Regions from separate parts of the Homo sapiens genome. Here region 2 is linked to region 1. Evidence: promoter capture Hi-C in 16 types of primary human blood cells and fetal thymus (Javierre and others, 2016). All regions are on one chromosome and are shown on one strand. The core of a region is centred on a gene start or on the middle of the fragment in contact, and the rest is flanking DNA. Distances in the headings are between cores, read along the strand shown.

Evidence for each region. Contacts are between HindIII fragments. The CHiCAGO score rates a contact against its expected background, and 5 or more counts as called.
Region 2: a contact is called between a fragment that was not itself captured here and the fragment with the promoter of PCDHB11 in region 1, in 1 of 17 cell types (endothelial precursors). The highest score is 5.2, in endothelial precursors.

Annotation. Positions count from the first base shown.
Region 1 is chr5:141,198,201-141,203,354 of GRCh38, reverse strand. PCDHB11 (protocadherin beta 11) reads right to left here and starts at 3,728. Exons shown (of 1, transcript NM_018931.3): 1 at 1-3,728. The coding sequence starts at 3,580. The coding sequence ends at 1,187. It also overlaps PCDHB@. The HindIII fragment of the contact is 6,869 bases long and covers 1-5,154 here.
Region 2 is chr5:141,377,531-141,382,078 of GRCh38, reverse strand. All of the region lies in intron 1 of PCDHGA1 (protocadherin gamma subfamily A, 1), which reads right to left. The region is part of intron 1 of PCDHGA2 (protocadherin gamma subfamily A, 2); the gene reads right to left. The region is part of intron 1 of PCDHGA3 (protocadherin gamma subfamily A, 3); the gene reads right to left. All of the region lies in intron 1 of PCDHGB1 (protocadherin gamma subfamily B, 1), which reads right to left. It also overlaps PCDHGA4, PCDHGB2, PCDHGA5, PCDHGB3, PCDHGA6 and PCDHG@. Among named protein-coding and RNA genes, the nearest start is that of PCDHGA7, 2.9 kb to the left of the region's middle. The HindIII fragment of the contact is 3,193 bases long and covers 895-4,087 here.

The sequences.
Region 1 (5,154 bases), core at 2,479-4,978:
TAATCCCAGCTTTTTGGGAGGCTGAGGCGGGCGGATCACTGATATCAAGAGTTAGAGACCAGCCTGACCAACATGGTGAAACCCCGTCTCTACTAAAAATGCAAAATTAGCTGGGTGTGGTGGTGCACCTGTAATCCCAGCTACTCGGGAGGCTGAGGCAGGAGAACCCGGGAGGCAGAGACTGCAGTGAGCCGAGATCACGCCATTGCACACCAGCCTGGGCGACAAGAGTGAAACATCGTCTCAAAAAACAAAACAAAACAAAACAACCTAAGAGAAAAATCAAAGTCAGTTTTCTAGAATAAGAAATAATAATCAGTAAATTATTGTACACTTGGAAAGGATTAAAACCTTAAAATTATTCATTAGAAATGGATTAACTACCTGTTACTTAATATAAAAAGGATTTACAATGTTATTCACAATGATATGCAATACTTGAAAATTGAAAATAGGCCTGGCCGCCTGTAATCCCAGCACTTTGGGAGGCTGAGGGGAGTGCATCTCTTGAGCTCAGAAGTTAAAGGCCAGCCTAAGAAATATGGTGACGATCCGTCTCTACAAAAAATACAAGAAGTAGCCGGGCATGGTGGCGCACGCCTGTAGTCCCAGCTACTTGGAGGCGGAGGTGGGCTGGTCTCTTGAGCCCAGGAGGCAGAGGTTGCAGTGAGCTGAGATCCTGCCACTGACCTCTAGTCTGGGTGACTAAGACTCTGTATCAAAAAAAAGAAAAGAAAAGAAAAAAAAAAGGCCGGGCGCAGTGGCTCACACCGGTAATCACAGCACTTTGGGAGGCCGTGGCGGGTGGAACATGAGGTCAAGAGTTTAAAACCTGCCCGGCCAACGTGGTGAAACCCCGTCTCTACTAAAGATAAAAAAAAAAAAAATTTAGCCGAGCGTGGTGGTGGGCGCCTGTAATGCCAGCTACTCGGGAGGCTGATGCAGGAGAATTGCTTGAACCCGAGAGGCGGAGGGTGCAGTGAGCTGAGATCACACCATTGCACTCCAGCCAGGGCGACAGAATGAGACTCGGTCTCAAAAAAAAAAAAAAAATTGGGGGAGAAAAGAAAAAATTAAAAATACAATTAGTCGTATTGCATAATAACGTAACTAGTTTAAGACTAAATAATATTGATATGGTTACATAAAACTAAAAAAGTACATGCAAATGTAAATAGCATTCTTACTAAAAATTAAATCCAAAGCTATTTCGAAAGGTGGAGTTTTCTTCACTATTCTTCCCAAGACCTTTTGCCTGGATATTAGGGATAACCGGTTTTAGGAACTTGAATTCATTTGTCTCGGAACCTCCCGTCAGACACACCTCGTACTGGTAGCTCTGGGAAAGGGTCCCGGTGCCGCTCACGTCCACCAGATGCCCTGGAAAGGGGCCCTTAGGCACCGAGCAGCTTCCCACCGAGGCCGCCCTGCTCCTCCTGCACAGCCGCACCGCCACGAACAGGAGCACCGAGAAGAGGAAGAGCGAAGACACCGAGGCCAACGCCACCACCAAGTAGACGGTGAGCGAGTCGGCCTGGGCCTGGGCCGGTGCCGCCTCAGGGAGCGGCAGGTAGGGCTGGGAGAAGCCGTCCACCAGGAGCACTTGCAGCGTGGCGGTGGCCGAGCGCGGAGGCTCGCCATTGTCCTTGACCAGCACCACCAGCCTGTGCTTGGCCGCGTCGCGCTCGCTCAGCAGCCTGGCGGTGCGCACCTCGCCATTGTGCGCCCACACGCCGAATAGCCCGGGCTCCGTGGCCTTGAGCAGCTGGTACGACAGCCAGGCGTTCTGGCCCGAGTCGCCGTCCACCGCCACCACCTTGGTCACCAGGTAGCCCGGCTCGGCCGCCCGGGGCACCAGCTCGGTGCAGGGCGCGGAGCCGTTCTGCAGCGGGTACAGCACGAAGGGCGAGTTGTCGTTGGCGTCCAGCACCAGCACGCGCACCAGCGCCTCGCTGCTCAAAGCCGGGGAGCCGCGGTCTGTGGCGCCCACGCGGAAGTCGAAAGCCTGCAGGGCCTCGTAGTCCAGCGACCTGAGGGCGAACAGGTGGCCGTTGTCTGTGTTGATGGAGACCAGGGAGGCGAGGGGCAGGTGCAGGTCCTGGGGCGGGAGTAGCGAGTAGTTGACCTGGGCGTTGGTGCCTGAGTCTCTGTCTGTAGCGCTGACACTGCCGATGTGCAGGGCGGGGCTGTTGTTCTCGCGGACGAACAGGGTGTAGGAGGTTTGGGTGAAGGTGGGGGCGTTGTCATTGACGTCAGAGACCAACACAGTTGTGTTGTGCTCGGTTTTCAGCCTGGGTATCCCCAAGTCGGTGACGGTGATGGTGATATTGTACTCGGCTGTGCTCTCTCTGTCCAGTGGTCTCTCTGTTTCCAACGTGTAGTAATTCTCAACTGAAGATTTTAGCACGAATGGGAGGTCTTCCGGAATGGAACAAACAATTCTTCCGTTGTCCCCAGAGTCTATATCTTGGATACTAAAAACCATAACCACGGTCTCTGGCGTATTTTCTGGGATTGGACTGGTAATTGATGACACAGTGATTTCAGGAGCATTGTCATTTACATCTATCACGTGAATTATGACTGTAGATTTTCCAAAAAGTCCTCCCCCATCTGTGGCTTGAATGATTATTGAGTATGACTCAATCGTTTCAAAATCCAGAGGTGCTCTTAAAGTAATTTCTCCAGACTTTTGATTAATTTCAAATGTCTTGCGAATATCTTCTGAGGCATGGGAAAAGGTATAGCATATTTCACCATTTGTTCCAGAGTCTAAATCCCAAGCTGAGACAATCAAAATCAGCGAGCCAAGGATGCTATTCTCCCGAATCTTCACCTCATAAAAAGCCTGCTCAAATTCAGGGGAGTTGTCATTAATGTCCACAACCACCACCCTGACCAAGGCAGTTCCAGACCTGGGAGGGGACCCACCATCCAGAGCAGAGAGGATGAAACTGAGCTCCGGGAGCTCTTCATAATCCAGCGCCTTGTCCAGAACTAACTCGGGGTATTTCCTATTGTCTGGAATGACTCTCATTTTAATGTGAAAATGAGAGTTGGGGCTTATTGTGTAGCTTTTTACAGCATTGATTCCTACATCTAAATCCTTCGCACTTTCTAGTAAGAACACAGCACCAACGGGACTGTTCTCTGGGATTTCTAGGAGCATTTGTTTTTCCGAGAAGATGGGAGAGTGATCATTTATATCCCTGACCTGAAGCTCAATTTGTAAAAACTGCGTGGGGTTTTGCATTAACACCTGCAAATGTAGCACGCAAGGCTCGATGGAACCGCAGAGCTCCTCCCTGTCTAGTGTTTCACTTAAGAGCAAATCCCCAGTGTTTATGTCCAGCTGCAAACGCTGTTTCTTATCATTAGAGACCACCCGAGCCCCCCGTGAGGACAGTTCTCTCACCTTCAGCCCCAGGTCCTTTGCCAGATTGCCTACAAAACTCCCGCTCTGCATTTCTTCTGCCACAGAAAAGCTCCAGGTTTCAGAGCCCGCCTGAGACATTCCGAGCAAAACAAAGAGAAGCAGGACTTGCCTTATCTGCTGAGTGCGTGTCCCTTGGTTCTCCATAGTTCCTTTCTTGTAGGCTTCTTGAAGAAAGGCTTCAGCTCTGCGGAACGCGTCTCTGACTTGTCCACCAAATCCTCTGTGGTCTAAGGATTTTAACCCTGTTGAATGGTTTCCAGGTCACCCTCTTGAAGGCTTGTTGTTTCTGTCTTCTGATTCTCTGTGTGCACTGGATATCAGTGTTCACAACGCCATCCAGTGAATATATTTTTCACGATGTTATCCTGCAGCGCCACCAAGTGTCTCCATAGATTTTCACAGTTTGGTGAAAGCTACCTAAATTCCATTCACTTATATGTCCTCCGGAAACAAATATTGTTTTATTCATTGTGTTCAAGTGATTACAAATATATTGCACGTTCTGTAATAATTATTTCATATTCTCTTTAGTTTGATATGCTGTTAATATTCATCTTAAAGCATTTATCTTTCCCCCTTCTCCATACAACCAAACGTGCTTAGTTGTGGTGAATACAGAAATACAAGATGTGATTCCTGGCTCCCAGTGGTTTGTAATCTTTCTGAGAAGACTGGAAACATAAAACAACCATAATATTTTTAAGCTGTACAAAATTCTATCACTACTTGACTTTCCTTAGGTGGTAATGAAAAGGCAAACTATACATGGGTCATTTTAGAAGTCCTCTCAGAGGATATGAAACTGGATTAACCATGAGATGGGACATACTTTGATAGTTATGATAGCACAAGAAGGCATTTATATAGATTTCCTTGGTAGCAAGGAATTGTGAACTGCTAGAAAGTAAAGTAAGATATTGGGAGTAGAACACATTATGAGAATCCTTGATTTAGTTCCAGCTTCTCAAAAAATAATAAATACACAAGCACAAGCATGTTAGTTTCATTTAAAGCAGGCTTATTTCTAAGACTGCCCTCCCTCAGTTTCCCAAGATTTATTCCAGCAACATCTATGGCTATCTGCTTTGTTTTTCAGCTCAAGAAGACAGAATGAGAGATATTTTCTTCCTCAATAATAGAACAAAATCTTAGCCTTCATTCTGATTAGACCAACTGAGAGCACTTCAGCCTGTTACTGAAGAAATCAGTGTCTCAAGATGTATAGGATTAAAGGTAGAGATTATAGTCCCAGAATCTAAAGACTCCATCTTTGACCCTTTGTTTTAATCCAGGCAGAGATTGCCCCTTAAACTTGAGGTGGTTTCAGTCCTAGCCAAAGTGCATGGCATAATGAGGGAGATAGTTGGAATAGGTGCTTGGAAACTACCAATGGTATCCACTGTTAGACATCTCAAAGTACTCTCAATAATGGAGGACATCTAAGAAGTCTGCTTTTAAAAATTCTAATTTCAAATTACATTCACAAAAATGTGAACTAGATACATGGTTGAAAAATTATCAGTGCAGAAGAGTAGAAATTGAATAGTATGTGGATTGACTATACAATTATCCTTCCTTCTTCTTAACCCCTCTCTAAAATGACAGAAAAGTAATAAAAGGTATGAATTCACAAAGACTAAGAATACATAAGTAAATACACAAATTATTTGATGATAGAAAGCAGATGAAAGAGCAATTGACAATAGTTCCAAGAAATG
Region 2 (4,548 bases), core at 1,242-3,741, 180 kb before region 1:
GGCGGGCGGATCACCTGAGGTCGGGAGCTTGAGACCAGCCTGACCAACATGGAGAAACCCCGTCTCTACTAAAAATACAAAATTATCCGGGCGTGGTGGCGCGCGCCTGTAATCCCAGCTACTCAGGAGGCTGAGGCAGGAAAATCGCTTGAACCCGGGAGGTGGAGGTTGTGGTGAGCCGAGATCACACCATTGCACTCCAGCCTGGACAACAAGAGCAAAACTCTGCCAAAAAAAAAAAAAAAAAAAAAAGAAGAAGAAAGAAAGAAAGAAAGAAAGAGGGAATTGCCTTGCCTTGTTCCTGATTATTGATTATATAGTAGTAGAACAATGTCGGAATCCAAATATTCTCACTCCCAGTCTTGTGAGAAAAAAAGAAAGAAATCGTTGTTTGTCTTGGCTGCAGCAATCAGCTATAGAAGCAACCCATTTTCTACAGAAGGCAGAAATCTGCAGAGATCCTACTGGGCTGTGAATTCATAAGAAACTGGATAATGGATTGGCTGATTCTTTTCATTATGCAATTCAATTCAAGTCTTCATCCTAGTATGCAATTCAAATCTTCATCCTACTCTATTCTAGTGTAATTGAGAAAACAGGGATCTCTAGACAGCATTTGAGCAAAATGCAGGACTGTCCTGACAGGATCCTTAGAGGTACTCGTCTCTCCACTGATGTTGATAGAGTAAAACTAAATTATTGATGGATCCGAGGCTACCCTCTGCTAGCAGAAAGAAAAGAAAGCTCCTTTCACATAGTTGCAGAATAAAAGAGAATGACCTGCTCTGGAATAAAGACCTGGCAAGAAACAGTCTTGGTTTGTAAATTCTTCTAGGTCCTGGAGAGTAGTTGGTGGAACCAGGAGGAGAATCCAGAACTAACACTAAGAAAGCTTAACTTCGTTTTGTGGGAGGCTCCTAAGTAACCTATTTCTGCTTTCTGGTGGCATTGCTCCAGAATACAGGGAACACTTTGAAGGACATTCTGTTTTGATCTATCAAAATAATCCATAGTTATCTTTGCATTCACAAAGTAGATAAATTTTGTTTAAAGGAACTAATAGAGGTATTATAGATGAATTCTGTAAACTGGAGTTAAATTCTATTTGTTTAATAGTACTTTTGAACTTCTTGTTGAGGCAAGCAAAGTGTATGATTATTAAACAATGTAAGCACTTGTAGATATTTTCAAACAAACTTTCATGTTTGGAGGTTATAGCTCTCAATGTCTTGATCCATTTTTACCTGATGCCTCAAAATTCATAGTTTCATCTCACATTTGTTTCTTATTCTACTGTTTTAAAAAAGTCTCAATTAATTTATAGTGTCTTGGTACCTTCTTTGGAGAAAAGGAAATAAGAGCTAGTTAAATTAAATTATAGACTACTCCGAACACAAAGCATACATACCCTATGGAGTAAATGGCTTCATTGTCTCTAGCATTCACATTTTCTAAGTTATCGAACATCATAAAATTAAATATTAAAGATCTTTACTAGACCGCCAAGATATGTTTAATAAAATCTAACATAAGCTCATTGTATCAAATTGAAATCATTTCATAGTTTAAAGAGTGTATATTATTGTTGACTGAGATATTGGGAAGAATCCTGACCATTTGTTTGGTTGCATTAAAAAGAATTCTATGTAAAGTCTATTTGGCTTCCTGGGCATCGAATTGATTATCTTCTCTCTTTTCTTTTTTGGGACTTTTTTTTCTAAAAAACAAACAACAAAACAGTTCTTTGAAGTTCCATTTAGATTTTCATTCTCAAGCAAAGATATAGGTATCTTCCAATGTTTCTCCTCTGAGATTTTACTCCTTCCCCTTTGACAATTGCCACCTCAACAGAAGCCTGATCAGAAATGAATGCCTTTCAGGCCGGGCTCAGTGGCTCATGCCTGTAATCCCAGCCCTTTGAGAGGCTGAGGCGGGTGGATCACTTAAGGTCAGGAGTTTGAGACCAGCCTGGCCATCATGGTAAAACCCCATCTCTACTAAAAGTATGAAAATTAGCTAGGCATGGTGGCATGCACCTGTAATCCCAGCTACTTGGGAGGCTGAGGCAGGAGAATCGCTTGAACCCAGGAGGAGGAAGTTGCAGTGAGCAGAGATCACACCACTGCATTCCAGCCTGGGAGACAGAGCAAGACTCTGACAAAAAAAAAAAAAAAAAAAAAAAAAAAAAAGAGGCTTTCACAGACCATAAAATAAGAATAAGACAATAATTTGGTAGTTTTTTTTCCTGATGCTTCAAAATTCTATACTGAACTCTCAAAACCTCAGATAGCCTATCTTATTATTAATGATCTGTATTGCAGGTGGATTAAAGAACCTCATTTAGCCATAACTTAGCAAATTCCATGACTGCCAGGATGTTTAACAGTTGGTCAGTCCACATGAGTGAATGACTTTTGTGAGAGTAGAAGTTGGTAGTTTTTCCATCAGAGAAATATTTTATTTGTTTAAATGAAATGGTCACAGGTAATAAGAGAATAAAATAAACCAGCCTGATCTCCATGAAAAGTAGTTAGTGAGCTTTCCCTATAACAACAAATGCTCAAGATGTAGTTTAACATCCCAAATTGGTAGTATAGTAAAATAACATTCACACTTTCAGAGTTTATGAAATAATCATATGTATAACAGCCCATCTAACTCATGAGACTAATATCCAAGATTCAAGTTGTTTAAAATTGTTATTTTATCAAATTATATCACAAAGATACAAGAAAATGAGCTTTGAAGATGTGTATGATTAGATCTCTTGTTTAGGTATATACCTTTGGAAACTTGAAATAAATAAATCTATAACAATTCCTTAAATGTAAATACCACAATATTGGTTCAGAAAAACACATATTACTCTTAGCAGCTTATTTAAAAACACATCAACTCAATGTTATCTTTAAGAAGACTGACAAAGTCAGGTTACAAAGGAGGTTCTCATTTATTTTCAAGGTATCTTCTCAATTGCTTTTTTCTTACACATTCATAACAAATTCAGATGCACAAGTGGCCAATCCATTCTATAATACCACCAGATTGTAGAATCTTCCAACTCATGACTGGAGAAAAATCTTGACTATAATGTAGTTCAACAAGTCATCAAATTAGAGAATCCCCTGTACTCCATTCATTCCAGGGCCATCAACTTACTTTTGAAGACTGTCGATAACAGAATCTCCTATCTCCTTAGTGATCCATTTTCTATTCGAACATCATTGACAGTCAAAAACTCTGCTGTTTTCTGTTCATGAAACAATGATTCTGTTTGCACATTTCAGTCATAATAAATAAGACTAATCAGTCTTCTAAATGATAATCCCTTTTTTCTTGAAATATTTCAATAAAGAGTTCCTATATGATGAAAGCCTTATTGTCTGGGTTAAAATGCTAAAATATTTAAATTTTTATTTGAACCTCATTAACATTTGTTCTCCCATTCACCAGTCAGTCATCTATTTTTAGAGATATGTCCTGTAAGCAGACACTACCGAGCATGTTTTAAAATTCATGTTCACTCTTTATTTATTAATTATCATTATTATTTTTTGAGACAGAGTCTCGCTCTGTCACCCAGACTGGAGTGCAGTGGCACGATCTTGGCTCACTGCAACCTCTGCCTCATGGGTTCAAGCGATTCTCCTGCCTCAGCCTCCCGAGTAGCTGCGATTACAGGCCCATGCCACCCCACCTGGCTAATTTTTGTATTTTTAGTAGAGACGGGGTTTCACCATGTTGGTCAGGCTGGTCTCGAACTCCTGACTTCGTGAGATGCCTGCCTTGGCCTCCCAAAGTGTTGGGATTACAGGCATGAGCCACCGCACCCGGCCATTTTCACTCTTAAATACTATCAGGCACACAGTATGCAAAAGACACTGTAGTAGGCACACAGCATCGGTGCTTAGTTATTGTTAACAACCCAATAATTATAATAATGGTGATGTCAACAAATACGTGTTCACTATGCTGCTTTAGAGTTTGAAAAAAAGTTATAAAATTATTTTCTTAGAATTTGAGTCAGATAGATAAGGAAAGTCTTGTTTTAAAAAATAATATAAGTAGAGCTTATTTGAGCCAAGCTTTAGGATTGCAACCCAGGAACATAGATTCAAGTTGCCCTGGATACACACTCTATAAGCAGCAGTTACAGGTGGATTTTTACTCCAGACTGGGCAACAGAGGGGGATCCTATCTCTGATAAGAGAAGTCTTTTAAATCTTAATTTTAATTGGAAGATAATGGCGATTGTAACTGGCCCAAGTAAATAACAGATAGTTACAGGAATGTTATTCAGGTCTTTTAACACCAAAGATCTGGTGTCCCCTGCTGCAGTTACCAATGATTCTTATCTTTTCAAAAATAATTTTTGATTCCTAAGTAGTAAAGGTGAAAGATCTCTTGTATGAACGTCTGTCGTTTATAGTTATCAAGTAACACTGAGAAAAAACAAAATCTTTTTTTTTTTTTGAGAGAGAGAGAGAAAAAGTCTCATTCTGTCTCCCAGGCTAGGGTGCAGTGACACAATTATATCTCACTGCAGCC